2 separate regions of the Homo sapiens genome follow, and region 2 is linked to region 1. Evidence: promoter capture Hi-C in human tissues and cell types (Jung and others, 2019). All regions are on one chromosome and are shown on one strand. Each heading gives the region's core, a stretch centred on a gene start or on the middle of the fragment in contact. The rest is flanking DNA. Distances are from core to core; before and after follow the strand shown.

What was found. Contacts are between HindIII fragments. The study calls those that stand out against the background at their distance.
Region 2: a fragment that was not itself captured here is called in contact with the fragment with the promoter of DPRX in region 1 in 2 of the 25 tissues and cell types used here (adrenal gland and mesenchymal stem cells).

What each region holds. Positions count from the first base shown.
Region 1 is chr19:53,629,173-53,636,921 of GRCh38, reverse strand. It overlaps DPRX (divergent-paired related homeobox), which reads right to left and starts at 4,923. Exons shown (of 3, transcript NM_001012728.2): 1 at 4,788-4,923; 2 at 2,237-2,391; 3 at 1-326. The coding sequence starts at 4,815. It also overlaps the pseudogene RN7SL317P. The HindIII fragment of the contact is 20,441 bases long and covers 1,005-7,749 here.
Region 2 is chr19:53,489,015-53,496,763 of GRCh38, reverse strand. ZNF813 (zinc finger protein 813) reads right to left here. Exons shown (of 4, transcript NM_001004301.4): 4 at 509-6,389. The coding sequence ends at 4,678. It also overlaps the pseudogene RPL39P37. Among named protein-coding and RNA genes, the nearest start is that of ZNF813, 25 kb to the right of the region's middle. RefSeq lists an enhancer at 3,482-4,681. The HindIII fragment of the contact is 8,734 bases long and covers 1-6,953 here.

The DNA.
Region 1 (7,749 bases), core at 3,674-6,173:
TGGGATTCCAAAATGGGGTAGAGGCAGTATATATTAGGATCTCGGCAGCAGCCAAAATGGACTATTCTGTGGCCAATGAAGTCATTTGCAGGGACCTTGAGGTTGGGGTACAGGATGAGCTGGAATGAGGGGACTCGATGACCCGTGTACACCAGGCCGATCGGGTGAGCAGCGTTGGGCAATCTGGGTAGTGTGTCTGCATTTCTCAGGCCGACACTGGTGGAGACCCCACCCTCTGGTATTGGCGGTTGTGGAGTTTCTTGTTTTTGATGAATATGCTTGCATTTCGCTTTCTTGAGTTTTGCTCTGTGATTCTTGAACCAGACCTGAAGGGAAGAGAGAGAAGAGAATGGGGTGGAATTCAGATGACTTGTCATTCTATTTTTAAAAAATTTTTACTTTTTAATTTTTATTTTGTTAAACGTATTTTATTTATTTATATTCTTTTTTTTAACCTTTAAGTTTTTAACTTTTCTTTTTTTTTCCTTTTTTTGGCCCTTAAACTCTCCTAATATTTATTTATTTATTTATTTTTATTTTATTTTATTTTATTTTTGAGATGGAGTCTCACCTTGTCGCCCAGGCTGGAGTTCAGTGGCACCATCTCGGCTCACTGCAACCTCCGCCTCCCAGGTTCAAGCGATGCTTCTGCCTCAGCCTCCTGAGTAGCGGGGACTACAGGCTCACACCACTATGCCTGGCTAATTTTTGTATTTTTAGTACAGACAGGGTTTCACCATATTGGCCAGGCTGGTCTCGAACTCCTGACCTCATGATCCGCCCACCTCGGCCTCCCAAACTGCTGGGATTACAGGCATGAGCCACCATACCCAACCCAAGTTTTCCTTTTAGTTGATAATATGAGTACTTCTAGGTGAGAACAGCTAGTGCCACAGCTTGGCCACTTACATCCTCTTTGTGGAACCCTACTCAATCTACTCCCAGGAAGGAGCAGAAATGAGAGATTTTGGGGACAGAAATTGAGACAGGGGTCAGAAAACCCAGAGCAGGGGATAGGAGAGCAAGGGGATCAGTCGCAGGGGCTGCTCTGGGGCTCAGGCCAGCCAGCTAAGGCTGGTGGCCAAATCTGACCACCCCCTGTCTTTGTATCACCCATGCACTAAGAATAGGCTTTACGTTTTAAAATGGTTGAGAAAAAACAAACACAATAAGAGTACTATTTTGTGTTGTATGTGTGTTGGGACTGAAAGAAAAAAGAGAGAAAATAAAAGAATACTACTGGCCAGGCACAGTGGCTCATGCCTATAATCCCAGGACTCTGGGAGGCTGAGGTGGGTGGATCACTTGATTTCAGGAGTTTGAGTCCAGCCTGGGCAACATGACGAAACCCCATCTCTACAAAAAACACACAAATTGGCTGGGCCTGGTGGTACACACCAGTAGTATCAGCTGCTCGGGAGGCTGTAGTACCACACACCTGTAGTCCCACCTACTTGGGAATCTGAGTGGGAGGATGGCTTCAGCCCAGGAATTCAAAGCTGCAGTGAGCTATGATCGTGCCACTGCACTCCAATGTGGGCAAGAGCAACACCCTGTCTTAAAACAAAACAAAACAACACTATTTTGTAATGTGAAAATTGTATAAACTTCAGGCCAGGCGCAGTGGCTTATGCCTATAATCCTGACACTTTGGGAGGCCAAGGCAGGTGAATCACTTGAGACCAGGAGTTCAAGATCAGCCTCCTGGGCAATATAGCGAAACCCCATCTCTACAAAAAATAAAATACAGCCGGGCTCATGCTTGTAATCCCAACACTTTGGGAGGCGTAGTGTGCACCTGTAGACCTGTAGTCCCAGCTACTTGGGGTGCTGAGGTGGTAGGATTGCTTGAGCCCGGGAGGTCGAGGCTGCAGTGAGCTGTGATTGCACCACCGTGCTCCAACCTGAGTAAAAGAGTTTCTGGGAACACAGATGGGCCTCTTGTTTACGTTGTCTGTGGCTGCCTTCGCACTGTGGTGGCATAGTTAAAATAGTTGCTAGAGAGACGGTATGGCCCACAAAGCTTCAATTATTTACTACCTGGTCCTTTACTGGAAAAATTTTCCCATTCTTGCTCTAGGGGGTTGAAGAAAGGTTTACGGGGACGTGAGTAGGAGAGTGTGGGTTTGGGGAATATTGGCGATTGGAATGAGACCTCAGGAATTATCCTAGAGGGACTCTGAATTTAGATTAGATCAGGAAGGCAGTTTAGTGAGAAGAGGGATCATTTTCCAACCTGCAGTACTGTTGGGTGTATGTCTATTTTCGAGGCCATTTCTTTCTGAAGGCTGGGGTTTGGGTATGGGTTCTCATTGAACAAGATGTTCAGATCTTCCAGTTGCTTCTTAGTGAACATGGTTCGTTTCCTGTGTGAATGCATCTGGTCCTTGCCTTGAAAGAGGAGGAAAAAGACACAAATGGGAAATGCTAACAACTCCATTCTCAAAAGCCTGAGCTTTCCTTTCCTTTCCACTGAGGTACAACGTGATGATCAAGTGACTGAGGTTCTGTCACCGAGGCTGGAGTGCAGTGGCACAATCTCAGCTCACTGCAACCTCCACCTCCTGAGTTCAAGCGATTCTCCTGCCTCAGCCTCCCGAGTAGCTGGGATTACAGGCGCACGCCACCATGCCCGGATAATTTTTGTATTTCTAGCAGAGACAGGGTTTCACCATGTTGGCTAGGCTGGTCTCGAACTCCTGACCTCAGGTGATCCACCCGCCTCGGCCTCCCAAAGTGTTGGGATTACATGCGTGAGCCACTGTGCCCGGCCGTGACTGAGGTTCTTAGATATGGAGACACTGCTGGCCGGGGTCGTGCCTCAGGCTGCAGTCCCAGTACTGTGGGAGGCTGAAGCGGGAGGACAACTTGATCTGCCTTTTGTCCTTGTTTTTCCAAGCCTCATTTGTCATTTTCATAGGAAAAGGTTGTTCCTTTCCCCCTTGGTTCCTCCATCCTTTTTTTCTGTTATCATTTAAATATGGGATCCCTTGCTCACGCCTGTAATCCCAGCACTTTGGGAGGCCAGGGCGGGCAGATCATATCAGGTCATGAGTTTGAGACCAGCCTGGCCAGCATGGTGAAACCCCATCTCTATTAAAAACACAAAAATTTGGCCGGGCACAGTGGCTCATGCCTGTAATCCCAGCACTTTGGGAGGCCAAGGCGGGCGGATCATGAGGTCAAGAGATCAAGACCATTCTGGCTAACATGGTGAAACCCTGTCTCTACTAAAAGTACAAAAATTAGCTGGGCGTGATGGTGCACGCCTGTAGTCCCAGCTACTCGGGAGGCTGAGGCAGGAGAATCGCTTGAACCTCAGAGGCAGAGGCTGTGGTGAGCCGAGATTATGCCACTGCACTCCAGCCTGAGACAGAGGGAGACCCTGTCTCAAGAAAATAATAAATAAATAAATAAATAAATACGTAAATAAGGGATCGCTTGTGCCTTACCTCTTGGGTTCTATTTTCTTTGTGTAGAAATAGGCAACTCAATCCAAGGTGAAATGGATGGACATGGTTTTATTCTTATCATTTATTCAATGTTCATTAAGTATATTCTTTTAGGAATATAGCAAGGAAATAAGCAGAAAAATAACATCACTGCTGTCACGGATGTCACCTTTTACTTTCTTTTTCTTGAGACAGTGTACTGCTGTGTTGCCCAGTGGCATGATCACAGCTCACTTCAGCCTCAACCTCCCCAGGCTCAAGCGATCCTCTCACCTCAGCCTCCCGAGTAGCTGGAACTACACAACACTGACATGCCCGGCTAATTTTTGTATTTTTTGTAGAGACAACGTCTTGTTTTGTTGCCCAGGCTGGTCTTGAACTCCTGGGCTGAAGCGATCTGCCCACCTCGGCCTCCCAAAGTGCTGGGATTACAGGCATGAGCCACCGCATGCCTCGCTCTAAAAGATCTGAATCGCATCATGCCTGAAAATGGTTTGGCAGCAGCTCCAGAGTCTAGTAAGTGCTCATGAACATGAGATTTCCAGCTTGGCTAAGCCTATATTCTATCTAGGACCTAATCATCCTCATAGGAATCAGATTCCCCTGTGCTCAAGAACAAGCATCGGGGTGGGAAGAATTAGGACACAACTACGAGGGAGAAGATTTCGGATTTGAAGGCAGAAACAGGCTTCCCTGCATTTGCCTGTGCTGTCAGATGACAGCCGCGGCCGGGCACCGAGGCTCATGCCTGTAATCCCAGCACTTTGGGAGGCCGAGGCCAGCCAATCACATGAGGTCAGGGGCTTGAGACCAACCTAGCTAACATGGTGAAACCCCATCTCTATAAAGATACAAAACTTGGGCCGGGTGCAGTGGCTCACGCCTGTCACCCCAGCACTTTGGGAGGCTGAGCCAGACGGATCACAAGGTCAGGAGTTCGAGACCAGCCTGGTCAATATGGTGAAACCCCCGGCTCTACTAAAAATACAAAAAAAAAAAAAATTAGCCAGGTGTGGTGGCGTGTGCCTGTCATCCCAGCTACTCGGGAGGCTGAGGCAGGAGAATTGCTTGAACCTGGGAGGTGGAGGTTGCAGTGAGCCGAAATCGTGCCACTGCACTCCAGCCTGAGCGACAGAGTGAGACTGTCTCAAAAGACAAACAAAACAAAACAAAACAACAACAACAAAAACGATGACAGCCTCTGTGGGAAGTCCCTGCCACCCACGTGGACGAAGCACCAGCTTCGGCCGCCTGGTCCCTCTGCCTTTTCCCGCCGCCAGCTGCTTTCCACTTCTTCACGTGTCTTTGCTTCGGTTCTCATTTTTTCTGGCTTACCTTTACGAAGATCCTCTGAGCCTGGCATCTTCTAATCCAGATGTGCGCCTGGGTTCAGGTCCAGGGATAAGAACTAGCAAAGATCAAATCCGGATTTAAGTAGCTTCCTCCACAGCCACACCCGACTCCCACCTCCTCCACCTTTCTCTGCCCTATCTGCCTCCAATATGATCCCTCGGTCCTCCAGAGCCCCCTGGATTTCTCCCAATACTGTCATTTTATCTAATATTGATTGAGCGGAGACCAACGACTCAAAGGCGAGTCCACAAACCAGCCCCACTAACACTCCTGGGAGTTGTTAAAATGCAGAATCCTGGCCCACTCCAGACTTCCTGAGCAGAAGCTGCAATTTCTTTTCTTTTTTTCTTTTTCTTTGAGACAGAGTCCCACTCTGTCACCCAGGCTGGAGCGCAATGACACCATCTTGGCTCACTGCAGCCTCTGCCTCCCAGGTTCAAGGGATTCTCATGTCTCAGCCTCCCGAGTAGCTGAGATCACAGGCCTGTGCCACCACTCCTGACTAATTTTTGTATTTTTAGTAGAGACGGAGTTTCCGCCATGTTGGCCAGGCTGGTCTTGAACTCCTGCCCTCAACGTTTCTGACTCGGTCTGGGGTGGGATCTGATGATTTCCATATCTAACAAGCACCCAGGTGACCAGGCTCCGTAATGGGGACCGGGAATGTGATTGTGAATAATGAAGTCCAGGTTTAAACCCTAAAGGGGCTTTCAGGCAACTTATATATTCTTTAGTGGCTAATATATGCTTGGCATTGTTCTGCATATCCTGATTTAGTTAACTCACTCAGAAATCATCTCATTTTATTTATTTATTTATTTATTTAGAGATGGAGTCTCACTCTGTCACCCAGGCTGGAGTGCAGTGGCACGATCTCGGCTCACAGCAACCTCCGCCTCTCAGGTTCAAGCAATTCTCCTGCCTCAGCCTTCCCAGTAGCTGGGATTACAGGCACCCACCACCAAGCCTGGCTAATTACAGGTGGCTCACACCTGTAATCCCAGCACTTTGGGAGGCTGAGGCAGGCGGATCACCTGAGGTCAGGAGTTCGAGACCAGCCTGGCCAACATGGCGAAACCCCATCTCTACTAAAAATACGAAAATTAGCTGGGTGTGGTGGTGGGCACCTGTAATCCCAGCTACTCAGGAGGCTGAGGCAGGAGAATTGCTTGAACCCAGGAGGCAGAGGTTGCAGTGAGCTGAGATCGCACCACTGCACTCCAGCCTGGGTGACAGGAGTGAGACTCCATCTCAAAAAAATAAAAGAAAAAGCTGCAACACCTTTCAGATGCCCAGGCTCACACCATGTATACCTTTTATCTTGACGACAAGGGCAGTTTGACTTCAGGTTCACAGAAGTGGCAGTTTTTCTTGCCATTCCATCCATTTGAATCTCAGTTCTGCACATCTCTACTTGTGACAGTGGTTAGCCTTTGCATAAATGAGCTTGTAGCTACTTTTTTTTTTCTTTTTGAGACAGGGTCTTGCTATGTCTCAAAAAACACAGCTGACTGCAGCCTCGACCTACTGGGCTCAAGTGATCCTCCTACATTTGCCCCCAAGTAGCTGTGACTACAAAGGCCTAGGCCCAGCCTGGAGTGCAGTGGCAAAATCATAGCTCAATGCAGCCTTAACCTCCTGGGCCTAGGTGAGCCTCTCACCTAAGCCTCCTGAGTAACTGGGACTACAGGTGCACACTACCATACCCAGCTAATTTTTGCATTTTTTGTAGAGAAGGGATTTTGGCTAGGCTAGTCTCAAAGTCTTAGGCACAAGCCATCCTCCCACCTCAGCCTCCCAAAGTGCTGGGATTAGTAAGAGGCAGTCTGTGTTGCTCAGGCTGGAGGGCAATTCACAAGCTGATTCCACTACTGATCAGCATGAAAGTTTTTTTTTTTTTTTTTGAGATGGAGTCTCACTCTGTCGCCCAGGTTAGAGTGCAGTGGCGTGATCCCGGCTCACTGCAACCTCTGCCTCCTGGGTTCAAGCAACTCTCCTGCCTCAGCCTCCCAAATAGCTGGGATTATAGGCACATGCCACCATGCCCAGCTAATTTTTTTTTTTGTATTTTTAGTAGAGACAGGGTTTCACCATGTTGGCCAGACTGGTCTCAAACTCCTGACCTCAGGTGATCCATCTGCCTTGGCCTCCCAAAGTGCTGGGATTACATGTGTGAGCCACTGTGCCCAGCCAGCATGAAAATTTTGACCTGCTCCATTTTCAACCTAGACCATTTCCCCACTTCTTAGGCAACCTGGTGGGAGGTCACCATATTGATGCCGAACTTAGTGTGGATGCCCAATTGGCAGAGCACATTACAGCCTAGAACTCCTGGGTTCAAGCCATCCTCCCGCCTCAGCCTCCCAAAGTGCTGGGATTACAGGTGTGAGCCACTGCACCCGGCCTGATGAACAGTATATCTTTAGAGGTGAATAAGACATACCAAGCAACAATTTTAAACCACATTTTTATCTTGTGATAGTGTCAGAAACCAATTTAAAAAGAGCCTGTAATCTGCCGTCTGTTTCTCTGGATTTATCTTTTCCAGGTATTTCATTAAAAAAAAAAAATCATAGGCCGGACACAGTGGCTCACACCTGTAATCCCAGCAGTTTGGGAGGCCAAGAAGGGAGGATCGCTTGAGCCCAGGAGACCAGCTTTTCAAAAACTAAAATAAAATTACATTATATAATATGTAACCTTTTGTGTGCTGGCTTCTTTTACTGAGCATGTTGTTTTCAAGGTTTATCCTCATGGTATAATGTGTCGGTATCTCATTCCTCTTTTTTTTTTTTTTTTTTGAGACAGAGTCTTGCTCTGTTGCCCAGGCTGGAGTGCAGTGGCAGGATCTCAGCTCACTGCAACTTCTCTGCCTCCTAAATTCAAGTGATTCTCATGCCTCAGTCTCCTGAGTAGGTGGGATTACAGGTGTGCACTAACACGC
Region 2 (7,749 bases), core at 1,337-3,836, 140 kb after region 1:
TAGAGACAGGGTATCTCCATGTTCGTCAGGCTAGTCTCAAAGTCCCAACCTCAAGTGATCCACCCGCCTCGGCCTCCAAAAGTGCTGGGATTACAGGCATGAGCCACCGTGCATGGCCTCTACGTAGCTTTATTTTAGTCTTTGTGGCTATCTCATTTAGGAATAAAATGGGAGGCAGGTTTGTCTGATGCAGTTCTCAGGTTGACTTTTCTCTTTGGCTTAGTAATTTTTATTTTCCTTTCACGAGCTTGTGACAGACATAATGCTTTGACACACTGATATTGCTTAATATAGATTTTTCCATAACAGTAAAGTCCAAGGGTCTCTCATGAATTGGGTTAGGGGAGATGAGAACATTCCCAGGAGACTCCTGGTCTCAAGCAATCCTCCCATCTCAGCCTCCCAAAGTGCGAGGACCACAGGTGTGATCAGCTGACCCAGTGGAGTCTTGATCTCAAAAAAAAAAAAAAAAAAAAAAGCAAAACAGAAATTAAGGTACTCTATGCAATTACATCATTTGCCTTTTTTATTTTGAAATGAAAAGTCTCACATATTTATTACTGAACCCACCCAACTGACGTGTTCATAGCAGATTCAGAGAAAAAACATATTCCCAATAAAACATTTCCAACACTCCAGATAGTGGTGACATTTTCAGCTTGATATGGTAACGCGATTGTAATGCTCACACAGCATAAATATGTGTGCCATCTCACGTGCAATTCCTTATAGACCCCGCTTCGTTCTTCTCCAATGTCTCCTTTTGGAGTCGTACCTGATTTTATTACCAGTTTTGATCTGAATCCACTGGGGGAATGGAATGATTTTGCTTTTGTTTCTTGGCCAGGTATTGCTTAAATCTGAAAGTCCTGTGAGATCTGGCGAGAAGGGGAGTCAAGTACACACCACGAGAGGAGACAGGAAGAGAAGGGGCTTGACATATTTTATTTTTTATTTATTTATTTTTTTTTGAGACAAAGTTTTGCTCTTATTGCCCCCATCTTGGCTCACTGCAACCTCCGCCCCCCAGGTTAAAGCGATAATGCAGCCTCAGCCTCCTGAGTAACTGGGATTACAAGCACCCGCCACCACACCCAGCTAATTTTTGTATTTTTAGTAGAGACGGGGTTTCACCATGTTAATCAGCCTGTTCTCAAACTCCTGACTATTGTTTCTGCTGTTACCTGTCAGTCCTCTTCATTGTGGCACAAACAAGATAAATTTTTTTGTAAAACTGATGTGCAAGGGGCATGGTGGCTCATGCCTGTAATCTCCACACTTTGGGAGGCTGAGGTGGGCAGATCGTGAGGTCAGGAGTTCAAGACCAGCCTTGCCAACATGGTGAAACCCCGTCTTACTAAAAATACAAAAATTAGCTGATGTGGTGGCACGCGCCTGTAGTCCCAGCTACTAAGGAGGCAGAGACAGGAGAATCACTTGAACCCGGGAGGCAGAGGTTGCAGTGAGCCGAGATTGCACCACTGCATTCCAGCCTGGGAGACAGAGCGAGACACCATCTCAAAAAAACAACAACAACAAAAACAAACAAAAAAACTGATGTGGATGGTGTGCCTGCCACTCCATGCATCACCTTCAACATTGTCTTGTCCCAACTCAAACTAAGTTATCCATTTACAAACTGTTTATTTCTTCTGGGCATCATCTCCATAATCTTTTCATAAAGCATCAATGATTTCATTATTCCTCTACCCAAACTTTACAAGAAGTATTTTTTTTTTTGAGCCAGTATCTCGCTCCATCACCCATGCTGGAATGCAGTGGCATGATCATAGCTCACTGCAGCCTCAACCTCCCAGGCTCGAGCTATCCTCCTACCACAGACTCCACAGCAGCTGGCCCTGCATGCATGTGCTACCGTGCCCAGCTAATTTTTGTATTTTTTGTAGACAAGGGGGTTTCACCATGTTGCCCAGGCTTGTCTTGAATACCTGGGCTTACATGACCCACCTGTCTTGGCCTCTGAAAGTGCTGGGATTACAGGCCTGAGCCACTGCATCTGGTCTCACTGTAAATTTGATGCTCCTTTTTGTTTCAATTTTAGCAGGATTTATATTGCTTTGATAGAGTCTCTTTTCTTTTCTTTTCTTTTTTTTTTTTTTGAGACAGAGTTTCGCTCTTGTTGACCAGGCTGGAGTGCAATGGTGCAATCTCGGCTCACAGCAATCTCTGCCTCCCGGGTTCAAGCCATTCTCCTGCCTCAGCCTCCAGAGTATCTGGGATTACAGGCATTTGCCACCATGCCTGGCTAATTTTGTATTTTTAGTAGAGATGCTGTTTCTCCATGTTGGTGAGGCTGGTCTCGAACTCTGGATCTCAGGTGATCCACCCACCTTGGCCTCCCAAAGTGTTGGGATTACAGGCATGAGCCACTGCGCCCGGCAGAGAAAGTCTCTTTTAAAACTCATGTCTTATCCTTCTGGGTGCCTCAAACTAGGACCTGTTCAGACATAACAGATTCGTACCAGTTTATTTTGGTGCAAAAACTGGGAAATTCATACACAATTTTCTCATAATATGCAAAATATGTATTTTTCCATGAACTTCTTGAAGACCCCTTGTACTAAAAAGCTGTATTCAAGAGGATGTAAAAAGGACTGTAGATACTCAAGTGCCACTTATTTCTGGGATGCAAGGATGGTTCAACATAGTCAAGCAAATCAATGTGATATGCCACTTGAACAGAATGAAAGATGAAAACCACATCATCTCAATAGATGGAGAAAAAGTATTTCACAAAATTCAAAATCCACTCATCATAGAAATTCTGAACAAAATAGACAGAAAAGGAAATTTACCTCAACAATAGAAAGGCCATCCATGAAATGACCAACGAGTAGATAACGAAGCAGGGAACATGGAATGATTTTCCTGTAGGATCTCACATGATGGAAGAATGCTCTCACCCCTTCTATTCAATAAATACTGGCTGTCCTAGCCAGAGCAATGAAATAGCAAAAGAAATCAAACCCATCCAAATCAGAAAGAAAGAAGTAAAATTATATGTGTTTGTAGATGACATGATCTTCTGTGTAGAAAATCACAAAGACTCAACCAAAATACTACTGGAAGTAATAAACAGATTCAGTGTATCTGCACAGTACAATATCAGCACCAAAAATTAGCTGAATTTCCATACATTAACAATAAACAATTTTAAAAGAAAATTTAAAAACACTTCCATTTGCTAGAGAACTTAAAGTAAGAAATACTTAGGAATAAAAGCAAAAAGATGAGAAGTTTGTAACAATAAACAATTTTAAAAGAAAATTTAAAAACACTTCCATTTGCTAGAGAACTTAAAGAAATAGAAATAAAAGTAAAAAGGTGAGAAGTTTGTACCTTGAAATCTACAAATATACATCAATATGATTAAAAACATATACAGACATATAACCCATATTGATGGATTGGAAAAATTAATATTGTTAAATGATTATATAACCCAATGTGATTTAGATTCAACACGGTACCCATAAAAATCCCTATCAGTTTTTGTTAAAGAACAAAAAGCAAACTGGGAAAAGTGGCTCATGTTTGTTGGCCAGACTGATCTGAAACTCCTGACCTCAAGTGATCTACCCGCCTTGGCCTCCCAAAGTGCTGGGATTACAGGTGTGAGACACTGTACCTGGCCCAATCCTCTTAACATAAACACTTTAATGTCAATTACTGCTTGATGGTTTGCTCTACTCATTGCATTTGGAACAATTATCTCAAAATGAATTTTCTGATATTCTGCAAGGAGTGAAGTCAGACTGAAAACCTTGCCACACTGATGACATTTGTAAGATTTCCGTCCAGTGTGCATTCTCTGATGTCTAAGGAGGTGTGAACGTGAAGTAAAGGCTTTGCCACAATCATCACACGTGAGGTTTCTCTCCTGTATGAATTCTCCTATGTTTTGCATAGGATGAAGCTTGACTGAAGACCTTGCCTCAATCATGACATTTATAAGGTTTGTCTCCAGTATGAGTTCGCCAATGAACTGCAAGGTATGGACGATGTCTGAAAAATTTGCCGATTATTACACTTGTATGATCTCTCTTCCTTATGGGTTCTCCAATGATTTGCAATGGTTGTAGCGTTACTGAAGACTTGGTGACAATCATTACATTAGTCAAGTTTCCTTCACCATGGATTGCCTGATGGTGAGTAAGTGTTGACTGCTCATTAAGGCTTTGCCAGACTCATTACACTTGTAAGGTTTCTCTCCAGTATAAATTCTAGGATGTTGTGCCAGGTGTGAGTCATGCCCGAAAGCCTTGTCACGAACTCTTACAATTTTATGGTTTCTCTGCAGTATGATTTATTTTATGTCTTTCAAGGTTTGACTTGTGACTGAAAACTCTGTGATATTCTTCACCTTTGTAAGCTTTCTCTCCAGTATGAATTCTCCTGTCTTTTGAGGCTCGATTTGCCACTGTAAACTTTGTCACATGCTTCACATTTCTAAGGTTTCTCTCCACTATGAAGTCTATGATGACGTGGAAGGTGTGCTTGTTGATTAAAAATTTTGCAACGTTCATTACACTTGTTTCTCTCCAGTATGAATTCTTATGAATTACAAGGACTGAATTGTGACAGAAGGTCTTGCCACACTCATTGCACTTGTTTCTTTCCAGTATGAATTGTATGATGATGTGCAAGCTTTGCTTTTCAATTAAAAGCTTTGCCACACTCATTAAACTTGTAAGGTTTCTCTCCAGTATGAAGTCTATGATGACGTGCAAGGTTTGCTTTTTGATTAAAAACCTTGCCACATTCATTACACTTGTAAGGTTTCTCTCCAGTATGAAGTCTATGGTGACGTGCAAGGTGTGCTTTTTGATTAAAAACCTTGCCACATTCATTACACTTGTAAGGTTTATCTCCAGTATGAAGTCTATGATGATGTGCAAGGTGTGTTTTTCGATTAAAAACCTTGCCACATTCATTACACTTGTAAGGTTTCTCTCCAGTATGAAGTCTATGATGACATGCAAGGTGTGTTTTCCGATTAAAACCCTTGCCACATTCATTACACTTGTAAGGTTTCTCTCCAGTATGAATTGCCGTATGAATTACGAGGGCTGAAATTCGACTGAACGTCTTGCCACACTCATTACACTTGTAACGTTTCTCTCCAATATGAATAGCCTTATGAATTACAAGGGCTGAATTTCGACTGAACGTCTTGACACACTCAGTACACTTGTAGGGTTTCTCTCCACTATGAAGTCTATGATGACGTGCAAGGTTTGCCTTTTTATTAAAAACCTTGCCACATTCATTACACTTGTAAGGCTTCTCTCCGGTATGAAGTCTACGATGGCATTTAAGGGTTAACTCCTGACTGAAGGTCTTGCCACATTCATTACACTTATAAGGTTTCTCTCCCGTATGAAGTCTATGATGGCATGTAAGGGATGACTTCCGACTAAAGGTCTTGCCACACTCATTACACTTGAAAGGTTTCTCTCCAGTATGAAGTCTACGATGGCATGTAAGGGATGACGTCTGACTAAAGGTCTTGCCACATTCATTACACTTGTATGGTTTTTCTCCAGCATGAATTCTCCTATGTCTTTTAAGGTTTGATTTGAAACTGAAAGCTTTGTCACATTCTTCACATTTGTAAGGTTTCTCTCCAGTATGAAGTCTACGATGGCATGTAAGGGAATACGTCTGACTGAAAGTCTTGCCACACTCATTACACCTGTAAGGTTTCTCCCCAGTGTGACATCTACGATGGCACACTAGGTTTCGCTTCCGATTAAAGACCTTGCCACATACATCACATTTATATTGTTTCTCTCCTAAATGGATTATTTGATGTTTCCTTAAGAGTGAGCTATAATTAAAGGCTTTGCCACTCTCATTACATTGGAAAGACTTTTCTCTCATGTGTACCTCCTGTTTTTGTGTGAGTAACGAAGAATTCCGGAAATTATTCCCATAGTTATTAGAAATATGGGTTTTGGGCCTACAAGAAATTCTTTGGGATGTTGAAATTGAGGAAGCATCGTTGATAGACTTCTCCACTTGATTACCAATTTTCCCTTGGGTCTGAAACATGTGGAGTTCAGGCAGATGCGAATGAAAGCTTGATCCAAGCTGATCTTTAATAGGCTTGTTTCCAGCATGCCTTTGATCATATCGGTCTGCACTACCAGTCAACTTTTTGATTTCTGTCATGGGTGCTTCATGGCTATTTCTTTCATCTTCTTGCCACTGAAACTCTAAGTTATGAATATCTTTATCAATTTCCTGAAAGCGAAAGTCTCCAGTGTGATGACTTTCATGTCTTTGCAATGTCCCTGTGTGGATCACTTCTCTATTGCCTTGTGCTGTTGATGAGAACTCCTTCATCATGCATTTGGAAGAGATATCTACAAAATATAAACACGAATAGGTTTCCAGTTCAGTACAGATGGTAAATAATACTGAAATGTGTAAATGTGACACAAAAAATACTCATTTTAAACTTCCCCAACATGATCTTCAAAGTTTAGGAACACAAAAGCGTAAGATTCTTTATTAGATAAAGGGCTATTACATGTGCTTCAAATCATCTCTACGGAACCCTATTTCCAATATCACGACAAAACACTGACAGTGCACAAATGTGTATAAGCCTAAAGTAAGGAGTATTTTTCCACTGTGACCGTAAAGTGTCTAACAGTTTGCAAAAAACATATCACCGTCACACCAATGAAAAGTATATATTCTTCATATTTACAGCATATTTGCTGTATACAAATAAATGCTAAAGGACCACATGATATACCATATTGGTAAATAATCCACAACAAGCTCATGTAAGGATAACCAAAATCAATGGAAATTCTGTATTGTCAAACAATCATAGCACTGAAAAGGTAAGAAACGATTACAAAATGTAGCCAGGCGTGGTGGCCTACGTCTGTAGTCCCAGCTACTCAGGAGGCTGAGGCACAAGAATCGCTTGAACCCAAGAGGCAGAGGTTGCAGTGAGCTGAGATTGCAACACTGTACTTCAGCCTGGGTAACAAAGTGAGACTTAATCTCAAAATAAAAGTTAATACAATATTTTTCTGAATTACTGTCATAAAATTACCTATACCTATGCAGAAAAGGCACGTTATGACGTTCTTTTAAAAATTTTTGTATTTTTTTATTTTCGAGATGAAGTTTCACTTTGTCACAACAGGCTGGAGTGCTATGGCCCAATCTTGGCTCACTGCAACCTCCACCTTTTGGGTTCAAGCCATTCTCTTGCCTCAGCCTCCTGAGTACCTGGGATAATAGGCACATGCCAGCATGCTTGGCTAATTTTTGTATTTTTAGTAGATAGAGGGTTTCACCATGTTGGCCAGGCTGTGGTCGAACTTTTGACCTCAATGATCCACCCGCCTCAGCTTCCCAAAGTCCTGGGACTACAGGCACGAGCCACAGTGCCCCAGTTAATGTGACATTAATGCCAGGCACGGTGGCTTATGCCTGTAATCCTAGCACTTTGGGAGGCCAAGGCAGGCGGATCACCTGAGGTCAGGAGTTCGAGACCAGCCTGACAAACATGGAGAAACCCCGTCTCTACTAACAATACAAAATTAGCCGGGTGTGGTGGCTCATGCCTGTAATCCCAGCTACTCGGGAAGGCTGAGGCAGGAGAATCACTTGAACCCAGGAGGCAGAGGTTGCAGCGAGCCAAGATCACGCCATTGCACTCCAGCCTGGGCAACAACAGTGAAACTCTGTCTCAAAAAAAAA